Linked DNA regions of Homo sapiens: regions 1, 3 and 4 are each linked to region 2. Evidence: promoter capture Hi-C in 16 types of primary human blood cells and fetal thymus (Javierre and others, 2016). All regions are on one chromosome and are shown on one strand. Each heading gives the region's core, a stretch centred on a gene start or on the middle of the fragment in contact. The rest is flanking DNA. Distances are from core to core; before and after follow the strand shown. Region 1 overlaps LOC105370775 (a long non-coding RNA gene). Region 2 holds the start of DPH6 (diphthamine biosynthesis 6). Region 3 has its middle 6.0 kb from the start of FSIP1. Region 4 has its middle 6.3 kb from the start of LINC02694.

Evidence for each region. Contacts are between HindIII fragments. The CHiCAGO score rates a contact against its expected background, and 5 or more counts as called.
Region 1: a contact is called between a fragment that was not itself captured here and the fragment with the promoter of DPH6 in region 2, in 2 of 17 cell types (total B cells and naive B cells). The highest score is 10.3, in total B cells.
Region 3: a fragment that was not itself captured here is called in contact with the fragment with the promoter of DPH6 in region 2 in 1 of 17 cell types (activated CD4 T cells); the score reaches 5.1 in activated CD4 T cells.
Region 4: a contact is called between a fragment that was not itself captured here and the fragment with the promoter of DPH6 in region 2, in 3 of 17 cell types (activated CD4 T cells, total CD4 T cells and naive CD8 T cells). The highest score is 6.0, in activated CD4 T cells.

What each region holds. Positions count from the first base shown.
Region 1 is chr15:38,680,679-38,683,471 of GRCh38, reverse strand. All of the region lies in intron 1 of LOC105370775 (a long non-coding RNA gene), which reads right to left. Among named protein-coding and RNA genes, the nearest start is that of LINC02694, 15 kb to the left of the region's middle. The HindIII fragment of the contact is 4,614 bases long and covers 1-2,793 here.
Region 2 is chr15:35,544,783-35,547,754 of GRCh38, reverse strand. DPH6 (diphthamine biosynthesis 6) reads left to right here and starts at 1,590. Exons shown (of 9, transcript NM_080650.4): 1 at 1,590-1,636. The coding sequence starts at 1,614. DPH6-DT (DPH6 divergent transcript) reads right to left here and starts at 1,560. Exons shown (of 3, transcript NR_038251.1): 1 at 1,282-1,560. RefSeq lists silencers at 1,118-1,167, 1,468-1,607 and an enhancer at 1,655-2,589. The HindIII fragment of the contact is 1,793 bases long and covers 1,027-2,819 here.
Region 3 is chr15:39,787,424-39,790,180 of GRCh38, reverse strand. No RefSeq gene overlaps it. Among named protein-coding and RNA genes, the nearest start is that of FSIP1, 6.0 kb to the right of the region's middle. The HindIII fragment of the contact is 472 bases long and covers 1,092-1,563 here.
Region 4 is chr15:38,701,532-38,704,231 of GRCh38, reverse strand. No RefSeq gene overlaps it. Among named protein-coding and RNA genes, the nearest start is that of LINC02694, 6.3 kb to the right of the region's middle. The HindIII fragment of the contact is 6,394 bases long and covers 1-2,700 here.

The DNA of each region.
Region 1 (2,793 bases), core at 35-2,534, 3.1 Mb before region 2:
GAGTATAATTTCTCTATGCTTGTCTCTTCCTTTGCTGTGGTAGCTGGTAACATGATGGGTGGCAGAGCCTCTGCTAGACTGAATCCCTGGGTAAGTATGTGGAGGACAGCCATCATAGAATCATCACTAACCCCATGCTTCTTGACCCCAATCCTCCACAGCTCATGTTGGATAGGTAGCACAAATTTTTATTGAATTAAGCCATAAAGAGTTGGGGGGTTGTTTCTGCAGGTATGTCAGTCTGCCTAAGGACTAACTTTCTAGCTGCAGAGATGGAACTAAGAGTGGAGTCTTTCTCCTCTAAGTGAGTAGGCCTTTGCATAAGCAGCACAGACAGATGAGGGATGGAGGAAACAGAAGCAAGCTGCATTGCCACCCCCTATCCTCCTGGGACCAGTGAGAAGGAGGGGACTTCCTAACCAAAGAGGCTAGGAAGGCCTACAGGGTCTTAAGCGTTTCAAGCAGCATACTGAGCACATGATAGCAGACCAAAAGGGTATGATTATTTCAGCAGACCCAGGTTCTGGCCAGGGGAGAGCAGAGCTTGATGTAGCTGATCTCAGTAGGGGTAGCTTGTAGACTTTTCCCAGGCTGCCCACAGACATGGCCGTGGGGTCTCTCTATTACAACAGCCACGAACATAATGGAAAAAAAAAATAGGTAGGTAGCTGTGTGGTTAGTGGGGGCACCAATTACCCCATAAATCAATTTGCTGTGTGTGTGGAGTGGGGGGTTGTTGGAGCTTCTTATTTTGATATAATTTCAAACAAGAGAAAAAAATGGAAGAATCATAGAAAGAACTTCCACATACCCTTCACCAAGGTTCACTAGTCCCCTTAAAAGTAATCTCTTTCATACCCAACCTAGCTATAATGCCTAACTCAAACTTCAATATTAAAGTTTCATGAGTCAGCTTTATATGTAAGATTTGCAAAACGTGATAGAATACTGATATGGTTTGGGTGTGTCCCCACCCAAATCTCAACTTGAATTGTATCTCCCAGAATTTCCACATGTTGTGGGAGGGACCTAGGGGGAGGTAATCGAATCATGGGGGCTCATCTTTCCCATGATATTCTCATGACAGTGAATAAGTCTCTCGAGATCTGATGGACTTATCAGGGTTTTCTGCTTTTGCTTCTTCCTCATTTTTCTCTTGCCGCCACCATGTAAGAAGTATAAGAAGTACCTTTCACCTCCTGCCATGACTCTGAGGCCTCCCCAGCCACATGGAACTGTAAGTCCAATTAAACCTCTTTTCCTTTCCAGTATCGGGTATGTCTTTATTAGCAGTGTGAAAACGGACTAATACAAGTACGCTTAATGTATAGTTATTTTATATTAAAAAAAAGTAACACTCATTGGAAAAATAGGCAGAGGCCATAAGTAGCCATTTGAAAAAAGAAACAGAATGGACAAAATTATGAAAAGTTCAACCCCTCTAGTAATAAATGTAAATTAAAACCTCATTTTCCACTTAGCAGACTAACAAGTGTTTATACGTATGATTATACTTGTGTTGGCGATAGTATGAGAAAATACTATCGCGCTGTTTCTGGAAATTGGTTCAACGAATGATGTAATTGGCTTGTCTGGCAACAAATATCAAAAAAAAATTTTTTTTAATGCACTTGCCTTTTAGCACAGCAATCTTAATTCTAGGAAGGTATCTGAGGGAATAGGCAAACAAATGTCCCTGACCCACCCCAAGAAGAAGTGTATCTATTGGCCGGGCGCGCTGGCTCACACCTGTAATCCCAGCACTTTGGGAGGCCGAGGCAGGTGGATCACGAGGTCAGGAGACGAGACCATCCTGGCTAACACGGTGAAACCCCATCTCTACTAAAAATACAAAAAATTAGCCAGGCGTGGTGGCGGGCGCCCGCAGTCCCAGCTACTCAGGAGACTGAGGCAGGAGAATGGCATGAACCCAGGAGGCGGAGCTTGCAGTGAGCCGAGATGGCACCACTGCACTCCAGCCTGGGTGACAGAGTGAGACTCTGTCTCAAAAAAAAAGAAGAAGAGGAAGAGGAAGAGGAAGAAGGAAGAAGGAAGAAGAAGAAAAAGAAGAAGAAGAAGAAGAAGAAGAGAATCCATCAAAACAAGAGGAAGAAGAGGAAGAAGAAGAAGAGGAAGAGGAAGAATAAGAAGAAGAAGAAGAAGAAGAAGAAGAAGAAGAAGAAGAAGAAGAAGAAGAAGAAGAAGAAGAAGAAGAAAGAAGAAGAGAATCCATCACAACATTATCCAAAAAAAAAAAACAAAAAAAAAATCAGAATGAAGGGACTTTGGTCAATTAAATGATGGTGTTTTATAGAAAGCACTAACACCACCTACATAGCACTTATAGAACGCCTGGCTCTGTTCTTAACTCCTTGCATATATTAACTCATCTAAGCCTCCCAACAGATAGGTACTACAATTACTGTCAGCATTTCACAGATGATGGAACTGAGGAACAGAGAGGTTCGCTAACCAGGTCATAAAGCTAGTCAATGCAGAGCTAATATCTGCATCTAGGCGGTCTGGTCTGAGTCAGCTCTCTTAAATTTACATTACACAACCTTTCATAGGATGTGTAAGCCTCTCTCTGCAGCTACTAAAATGACAAAATAGATTGTATTCGCTGTCATGAAAAATGTTCATAATATATGCATGAGAAAAGTCGATTATGAAACATTAAGTACAGTTTGAAACCATTATTTTAAAAGGAATTATATATACATGCATATAAGAATGTATAAAAAATGGCCAGGCACGGTGGCTCACACCTGTAATCCCACCACTTTGTGAGGC
Region 2 (2,972 bases), core at 341-2,840:
GACTGCAAACTTCTTAAATACTTGACTCATTTGGTAAATATTCATAACTGCAAAATCTTAAAGCTGTATGATTCTAGACGCTAAAACTGATATGTAGACTGTCACTGCTCTAGTCACCCCTACTATTAGAGTTGAGAATGTCAAAATAAAATTGAATGCTTACTATGTACCTGGCATAATTTTAAGTTCCCTACATATATTAACTTACTTAATTCATGCCTTTGGCATCATCCCTCATGACTTTCTTTCTCTTGTATCCCATATCGAATTTGATTCTATTGGCTCTATCTTCAAAATAGAGCTGGAATCCTCTTACTTCTCACCAAATTCACCATGTTGATTCTAGGCTCCGCCATCTCTCTACTGGAACACTGTAACAGCTTCCTAATAGGTGGATTCTCAACACTGCAATCCTTTTAAAATTTTAAGTCACACCCTTCAAAAGTCTGCAATTACCTACAAGACCCTATATAATCCTTCCCCTCCATCACCTTAACCTGCTCTCCACTACTCTCTGCTTTGCTCAATCTGCTCCAGCAACACGGATCTGCCTTAATCTTCCACAAACACACAACGCACCTAGAGCCTTCGATTTTTTTTTCTTGTCTGGAGCACACCCCAATCATACACATAGCGAACTCTCCTTATTTAAATTGGCTCAACTCTCATCTTACCAATAAGGCCTACATAGACACGATTTAATTCTGCAATTTGCCTCTCCACCTCTCTCCTGACTCTCCCCCACCGCACCCCGCCCCTTTCCAATAGCACTTTTCACTCTTCAACAGACTATTTACCTTTAAGATATGTATTGTCTGTTCTCTCCATCCCCATTTAAGCTCTATGCCCGGAATGCCGGGTTTTTGTTTTATTTACGGTTGTATCCACAGAGTCTAAAACAGTGCCTGGTACACGAAAGGCACTCAATACATACTTGGCAAATAAACTTAGAAGCTAGATTTTCTTTCTGCAAGGCCATTGCTCTTTGGTGAAGAGCCTGGCCTGGCCTTGTCAAATACACAAGCTTGACCAAGAGCCAAAGCCACAGAGGGCCTAGAGGTGGGGGGGGCTAGCCCCAGATTTAAAAATTACCACAGCCCCTGGGGATCTGAGTTTCACATCTGGACACACAGGTTTGGAGGACAGAGGAGATGTAAGTTAAAAAGCAGAAGTGTACAGTTGTTTCTGTTCTGTGGGGTGAGGAAGGACAAATTTCTTCTGCGCTTGCACGTCCGCAACTGTGTCAATTTGCAGCAATTGGGACGCTAAATCCCCTCTTACCAAAACAAATCCTGCGCCACTGGGCTTGGGCTCTGCAACGCGGACCTTGCCCTTCCCCCGGCAGCTTCAGTGCCCTCACTTAGGTGGTTAGGCCGTGCCTAAACCTCATTCTTTCCTGGGCCGAGATGTCCCTGCCACAGGGTCAAGGTGCCAAGGTGCCGCACCCTCCGCGCTCAGGTGTCCCGCAGGCAGCCGCGGGGCTCGCAGCGCCGATCCGCGGACAGGCGGCGGAGCGAACACCCGGGCGAGGCCCCGCGGTGCGTCACGCGAGCTGCGGCGCGACCTCCTGGCTCCCGCCCGCGCTCGCCGCACGCACGCGCACTGCGCCCAGCATGAGGGTCGCGGCTCTGATCAGGTAATGCGGTCCTGGAGCCGCCTCCTTCCTCCTAGGCCAGGCTCTCGTCCCTTCCAGCCGCCGCTAGCGCCGAAAGAGTGGGTGTCTCCGTCTGAGTCGCGCGTTGGGGGTTCCGCGGCTCCTCCGAGCCACAGGAAGAGGCGGAGCCTTCGCTGTTGCCGGCCCGCATGTGCCTCGGCCCCTGGCTGGCGCGCCTCCTCCCTGTCTGTCGCTCTCTGGTCTTCTAGCCCTTAAACTTGGATTCCCATTGGATTCAAGTGGGAAATTAAAAAAAGTACCGACGCCTGGGCCCCACCGCCAGAGGGATTGGTTTAATTACTTCTGTGCGACCCGGCGTCTGATTTTTTTTTTTCAAGCTCTAATGAGCCGTGAAGTTTGGAGCCACTACCTTATTCCATCAACTCAGTTAATAACCCTCGCCCTTTCCCCCTCGCTTTCTTCGTCCTCTTCTGTAGTTCCTTTGGTCAGCTGGGTCCGCCGCAGCCTGGCTTCCTCCCTAGTTGTAAGTGTTTCCGCCCATCCCAAGAAGTCCACCCCTCCCTCATCTTCACAGATGTGGATTGCTTATGGCATGTGTGTGTTTCTGCCTTTGGGCACTCAAGTACAGAGATCTCTCTTCGTGGTAGAGACCGAATTGTACTAGTCTTATGCTAGATCCAGTTGCTGTTGCTTCGGACTCTCATCATTGCTTTAGAGTGACCTTACCCTATACTCCGTATTCCAAAAGGAGTTTGATGTCTGTAGTAACCAAATCATAAATTTAAGTGTCTAAATAAGTCCTGTGACTGACAAACCAAAAACAAACCTGCTTAAATATTTCCATACTCAATCTATAAACTGAGGCAGAAGGGAACACACTAGCAACATTAAAAAGTTAGACTACTTAAATACTTGTTTCATGAGATTTTGCCCTGTAGAGTGTCTTAGATACAGTGCAACGATGTGCTTGCTTTTGTAATCCAATTGAAGATTTCATAAACGTTTTCGTTAAGTCCCTTAGGTAATTGATACTGGCTGTAAGTTTTGACCTATTAAGGACTTGATATGAGATTTCAGACCTACTGTAGTGTCTGGAATATTCCGGTTCCCTTTCCTTCAATGTCATTTTTAGGAGACTAGACCATAATGTCACAATAATTATTGTTGTTCAGTAAATGTCCTCTGTAACATAAATGATTAAGCTTTAACCATTGTGTCTTATTTTAAGAATTAAAAGTACCCCAGGAAGTGAATAATTCAAATTTACATCGCTTGCCAAAAGTTTAACGATTAAAGTAAAGCACAACAAACAAAGACTTAGAAGTATTGGAGGGGAGGAGAGAAGATTGGTAGAGTC
Region 3 (2,757 bases), core at 78-2,577, 4.2 Mb before region 2:
AAAATAAGGAACAGTGCTAGAGAGTTATCTTCCCATTGTTTGACAGATAGGCTGGTAAACTGAAGTCTGCAGAGGTGAAGAGGCTTGCCGTTCCATAACAGAGGTGGGATACATATGCAACTCTCATAAAACCTAAACAAATTCTGTTCTATTGCATCGTTCTATAAAAATAGGGCACTTCTCTTGTGGTTTTGCTTGCTTAATTCTTTGTTCGACAATTGCAGGGACAAGACAGATGGTTGTTACCATTACCCAGATGTTTCTAAACAAGTAATTCTTGCTGCCATGCACGTTGAGCAGATGCCTTTTACATTGTTATGAATGTTGGGTTGAGAAGCAGGTCATTTCCAAAGAGAGCAGAGACTGCTTAAATCAGAAAATCACAGGGTCTCAGAGCTGGAAGTAGTGGTAGAAACCTTTATCTACCTCTTATTTACTAGACAAAGAAACTGAGGTGGAAAGAGGTTAAGAGACTAGGCCCAGGCCACACTGTTCTTGGCAAAGACAGGACAGAAAATCCAGAGATGTGTATTTTAAAATGTGTGTCAGTGATGAATTACAAAAATATAAAACATCACAAATTTTGAACAAAATTAAAGCACTAATTTTAGTTTGCCTATTATGGCAAAATAAGGGGAAAATAAGCCAGCTTCTATTAAGAAAGGAGTTTGGATGATCAAATTTTAAAAATGTAAACAAGAAAACCAAGTCTTCAAAATGATGACTAGTTCCTAGTGTAATAAACACTGTATGTTCAGATAGAAACATTACTTTGGATTCCAGCTAAGAAAAAGATTGTGTAAGAAATAAAGTGAGAAGCTAAGAATGCCAGGATGAGACTTAAACATTGTGGCAGCCTGACCCATGACTGATGAACAAACCCCTGGGGTGGTTTACTTCTTATTTCTTTATGTCTGAGATGTTAACTCTGAGAAAAATCATTTCCTTACCTTGCTGCTTAACACCCTAAATATTTGATTTGAATGTTTCTAATATGGCATCTTAATTATTTTAGCTTCCTTTATTTTTTGTTAAAATATGTACAAAGGTTTACATAATAATGAAGGCTTACATAACTATATACTAAAGCTTCATTTTAGTATTGTAGGAAAACGGCCTGTTGCATAGCAAGATGACCAATGTGTTCCTGTAGCATAGATAAACTCTCATAGAGATGCTTATCTAACCACCCCAGGGGTCATGAGTTTTGCAAGAAGGCCTGAGGCATGACTGGCTGCACATCTTTCCCTAAAATCTTGCTATATAAAAGATGCTTTCTGGAGGGCAGTTGCGGGGATCCACTGTCTCTCTGGCCGCCAGAGACATGGCTTCTGTTTGTAAGCCCTTATTGAATGTTTCTTTCTGAGAAACTGGACTTGTCAGCTTCTTTCATTGGCCTCTCAGCTTCCTTGGCCTTTGGGGGTAGGTTTGCATAGACCTGCTTACCTCAACCAAGTACACAGATCAGGAGATCCAATTTAAAACAACAAACTAACAAACCCCTATGGGATCAGAGAGACCAAGCTCAATACTGAAGTTAGGTTTTGGACTCAGAGACAAGCTTACCTGTAGGTTGAAAGCATGAAGCATGAAACCCAATGCATGGGCAATGTTCAGAATCTGTTGGTTTCAGCCCAGGATTGATAGTTGCAGTGCAATTTCAGCCATTATGCGCAAGCAGTGTCACATCCATTCAGCTGACAGGGGCGAGACACTAATCTCAGTGGGCATCCAGCAACTGAAACTGCAGCTGGCCTTGGGAAGTTTCTGCCAACTCTTTAAATCTTTACAGGTACAGAGTTGCTGCGGGTGACCAAACTTTGTAGCCAGTAAGATCATGAGAAAGTTAAGCAGTCTGTTACTTTGAGGGAATTTCCTTAGAAAAGAAGAGAAACCGATTTTTTTCTCCTTTCTGGTGAGAATGACTCACTTGGCAGAGCTGATTGCTTTAGGGCCCACTTGACATGACACCTTCCCCCTGCAAATGACTCTGGATATTATAACATACCTTCGTTTTCATTGATTTACTTTACTATCTTTAAAAACAACCCTCTAGGCCAGAAACATGTAGCTGCACTGCTATGTGTGTGTGTGTGTGTGTATGTGTGCACTGATTTTTACACAATTTCACAATGTCCTGGAAGTTTGTGGCCCCCTAGGTTGACATTCGGATCGCTCGAGCCAGTTGAATAGTTATATGACAATACATGATCTAACTTCTTTAACTGAAAACAAACCTAAAGTCATCACTGTTTTTGGACCAATAGGCATTGAGAAGTTGTAAGCTTGATCTTTTAAAAAATGGAGACATCCACTGACCAGCAGCTAATTCTGTGCAGCACTCCACAGCAGACAGGGAGAGGAGGGAAAGAGTTCTACAGGGAGAGCATTTTTCAGTCTCTAGCCTGCTGTTTACAAAGGAAGTGCTGGATGTCACTGTTCACAGCCTCCGTGTAGAACAGCTGCAGGGGGCTCCATGGTGCCTCCAGGAGCAATGTCCTCACCACTATTTACCCTCTAAAACATTAACTTGAAGTCAGTGGTTCATCTGTACCACAAGCACCAAGGGACTTGTTAAAAATGCAGATTCCTGGTCTGCATTCCAGACCCACTGAATCATGTAATAGGGACTAGAATCAATATTTTAAATAACACCTGAACTGATCCTTCTCAACAACAAAATCTGACAACCCATTTGAATCGGGTTTATTTCACAGCTTTTAAGTTCTAAAAAATGTACTAAAATAAGGTACTAAG
Region 4 (2,700 bases), core at 33-2,532, 3.2 Mb before region 2:
AAAAGCAACTAGAAGTTATTCTTTTGGGATATGGAGGAAGACATCACAAATGCCATTATTTAGCTATGTATTTTCCCCTTTTTATCTCAATTCTTAAAACAGAACGACTTTCTCTTTGACATCAAATTGATAACAGGCTCTTCCCACCCACTTCAGAGTCAATTCTAGCCAGCTAGAAAAAGGAATCCACAGCAAGGAAATCACAGTTCTGATTAGATGCCAGCTTCTTCCCATCAGGTATGAGATAATGATTGAATCAGACTGGATGGATGGATAAAGTTGCTCCTGGATTGATGCTGAATGATAGTTATATCTAATCTCTGTGCATAGAAAAGCCAAGCCAGCCAGGCAAAGTGGCTCACGCCTGTAATTCTAGCACTTTGGGAGGCCAAGGCGGGTGGATCACCTGAGGTCAGGAGTTCAAAACCAGCCTGGCCAACATGGTGAAATCCTGTCTCTACTAAAAATACAAAAATTAGCCAGGCGTGGTGGTGGCGCCTGTAATCCCAGCTACTCGGGAGGCTGAGGCAGGAGAATGGCTTGAACCTGGGAGGCAGAGGTTGCAGTAAGCTGAGATCTTGCCATTGCACTCCAGCCTGGGCGACAGAGGGAGACTCCATTAAAAAAAAAGAAAAGAAAAGCCTACTGACATTAGCAGTATTATATGGTCGAAAAATAGCCATCATAATAATTTACATTGGTCTCATTTTTATTGAAATGAGGCCATGCAAAGCCACATGTAAAGATGAATTCAGCAAAAACCCAAACCGAATGAAATACTGGTTCAGAGAATATTCTTATGTTGTGATTGTGTCATGCCTAACAGAATTTAAAAATAATGGTCTAAGTAATTCTAAGTGGTTTCACATAAATAATTGTGGATAGAGTCCAAAATAGGTATTTTCATAGATTTTTCTGAATATTAGTTCAAGTTCAATTTATTCTGGATTTTGATTTCAGTCTCTGGTGCTTGTAACTTTTATTTTATACATCTTATCCCAGTAAGTTGTCCTTGAAAAAAATAGTAAGAGCCTTGTCACCTACCCTTTAAAATGTTTTCAAATATAAAAATATAGAAAGTTGTACAGGTCATAAACATACAAGTCAATTTTCACAAACTGAATACAACTGTGTAATTAGCACCCAGGTTAAGAAACAGAACTCAGCAGCACCTCAGAACCCACTTCATGCCTCATCTCCCAAAAGCAACCTCTATCCTGACCCTTAACTACATAGTTCAGTGCATCGGTTGGCTCTTGCTGCAGAACAAACAATCACAAAACTTCAATATTTTATCATTCACTCACGGGGGTGGTTGTGTAGGCAAGTTGGTTCATCTTGGCTGGGCTCTTGCCAGGTCTGTCCCACAGGCCTTGGCCAATGGATGAAATGAGTACTCAGACACAGGTATGCAGTATAAAAGCAGCTAGGTGACTGGCTGGCTCTAACGGCCAGACAGCAGCCTGGAGAAGCTGGAGCTGCTTGCTTTTATTCAGCTCAGGCACAATGCCAAAAACCTGGAGCCAACACAACCTGTAGGTAATTAACATTTATTGTTCTCCTTCCAGAGAAAGTCAGGTGTGTGGATGATCAAAGGTCAGTTCCTGGTCAACATAAGTAAACAAGCCTGTTTAAGATAAATTCCCCTACACTCCTTTGTACTTACTCCTTGCCCTCTGCCTCAGGGTTATAGAACAGCTGCTTTCAGCTATTCTCTCCTGGGGCTCTGCAGGAGCTTCCAACCTTTCAGAAGGTTTGCATCCTTTCCCTATAATTTTTCCCACCACTGTGACTGATCCCCCACAGACTTTCTCTTGCACCTTGGGGGTTGGGGGACAGCTCGCCTCCAGCAGGCTAGCCAGGCATGGCCATGGTGATAGCAGAGAATAAGAGAACAAACAGAAATATGCAGGCATCCTCTTTATTCAAGATAGGATCTGACAGAGCCAGGATTAGAGTGAGGCTAGTAGAGTGAGGCTAGTAAATTGAGTTATGCAAGTGCAGGGTCAGCTCCTGTCTTTATCGAAATTTTGTTCACAATGGATTTTCTTGCATTAATTTTGATTTTTCAAAAACATTGCATTCAATATTATTTTTCTTGATTACTGAGGATTTTGGTGCCTCCTTAATTTTAAGGCTGGGGCAGTTGCCTTCATTGCCTCACCATAGTCCTGACCCTGCTGGGGAAATACACTCCACATCTTCAGTGAAAGGAGCTGCAGTCATATGGCAAAGGGCATGGATTTTAAGAGATGAAGAGTTAGAGCTGCTAGTACAATCAATCTACCACAATTAATTTTGGCCATTTTTTACACTGGGCGCAGTGACTGATGCCTGTAATCCCAGCACTTTGGGAGGCTGAGGCAGGAGGATCACTTGAGTGCAGGAGTTTGAGACCAGCCTGGGCTATACAGGGAGATCCCATCTGTACAAAAAGTTTTTTTTTAAATATTAGGTGGGTGTGATAGCATGCTCCTATAGTCCCAGCTACTCAGAAGGCTGAGGTAGGAAGATCCTTCAGCCTGGGAATTTGAGGCTGCAGTGAGCTGTGATTATGCCACTGTACTCCACCCTGGGTGACAGAGCAAGACCTTGTTTGGGGCCCTTTTTTTGTTTTATATAAGTGGAATTGGACAATGTGTATTCTCTTGAGTCTGGCATCTTTTTCTTAATGTAATATTTGTGAAATACATCCAGAGT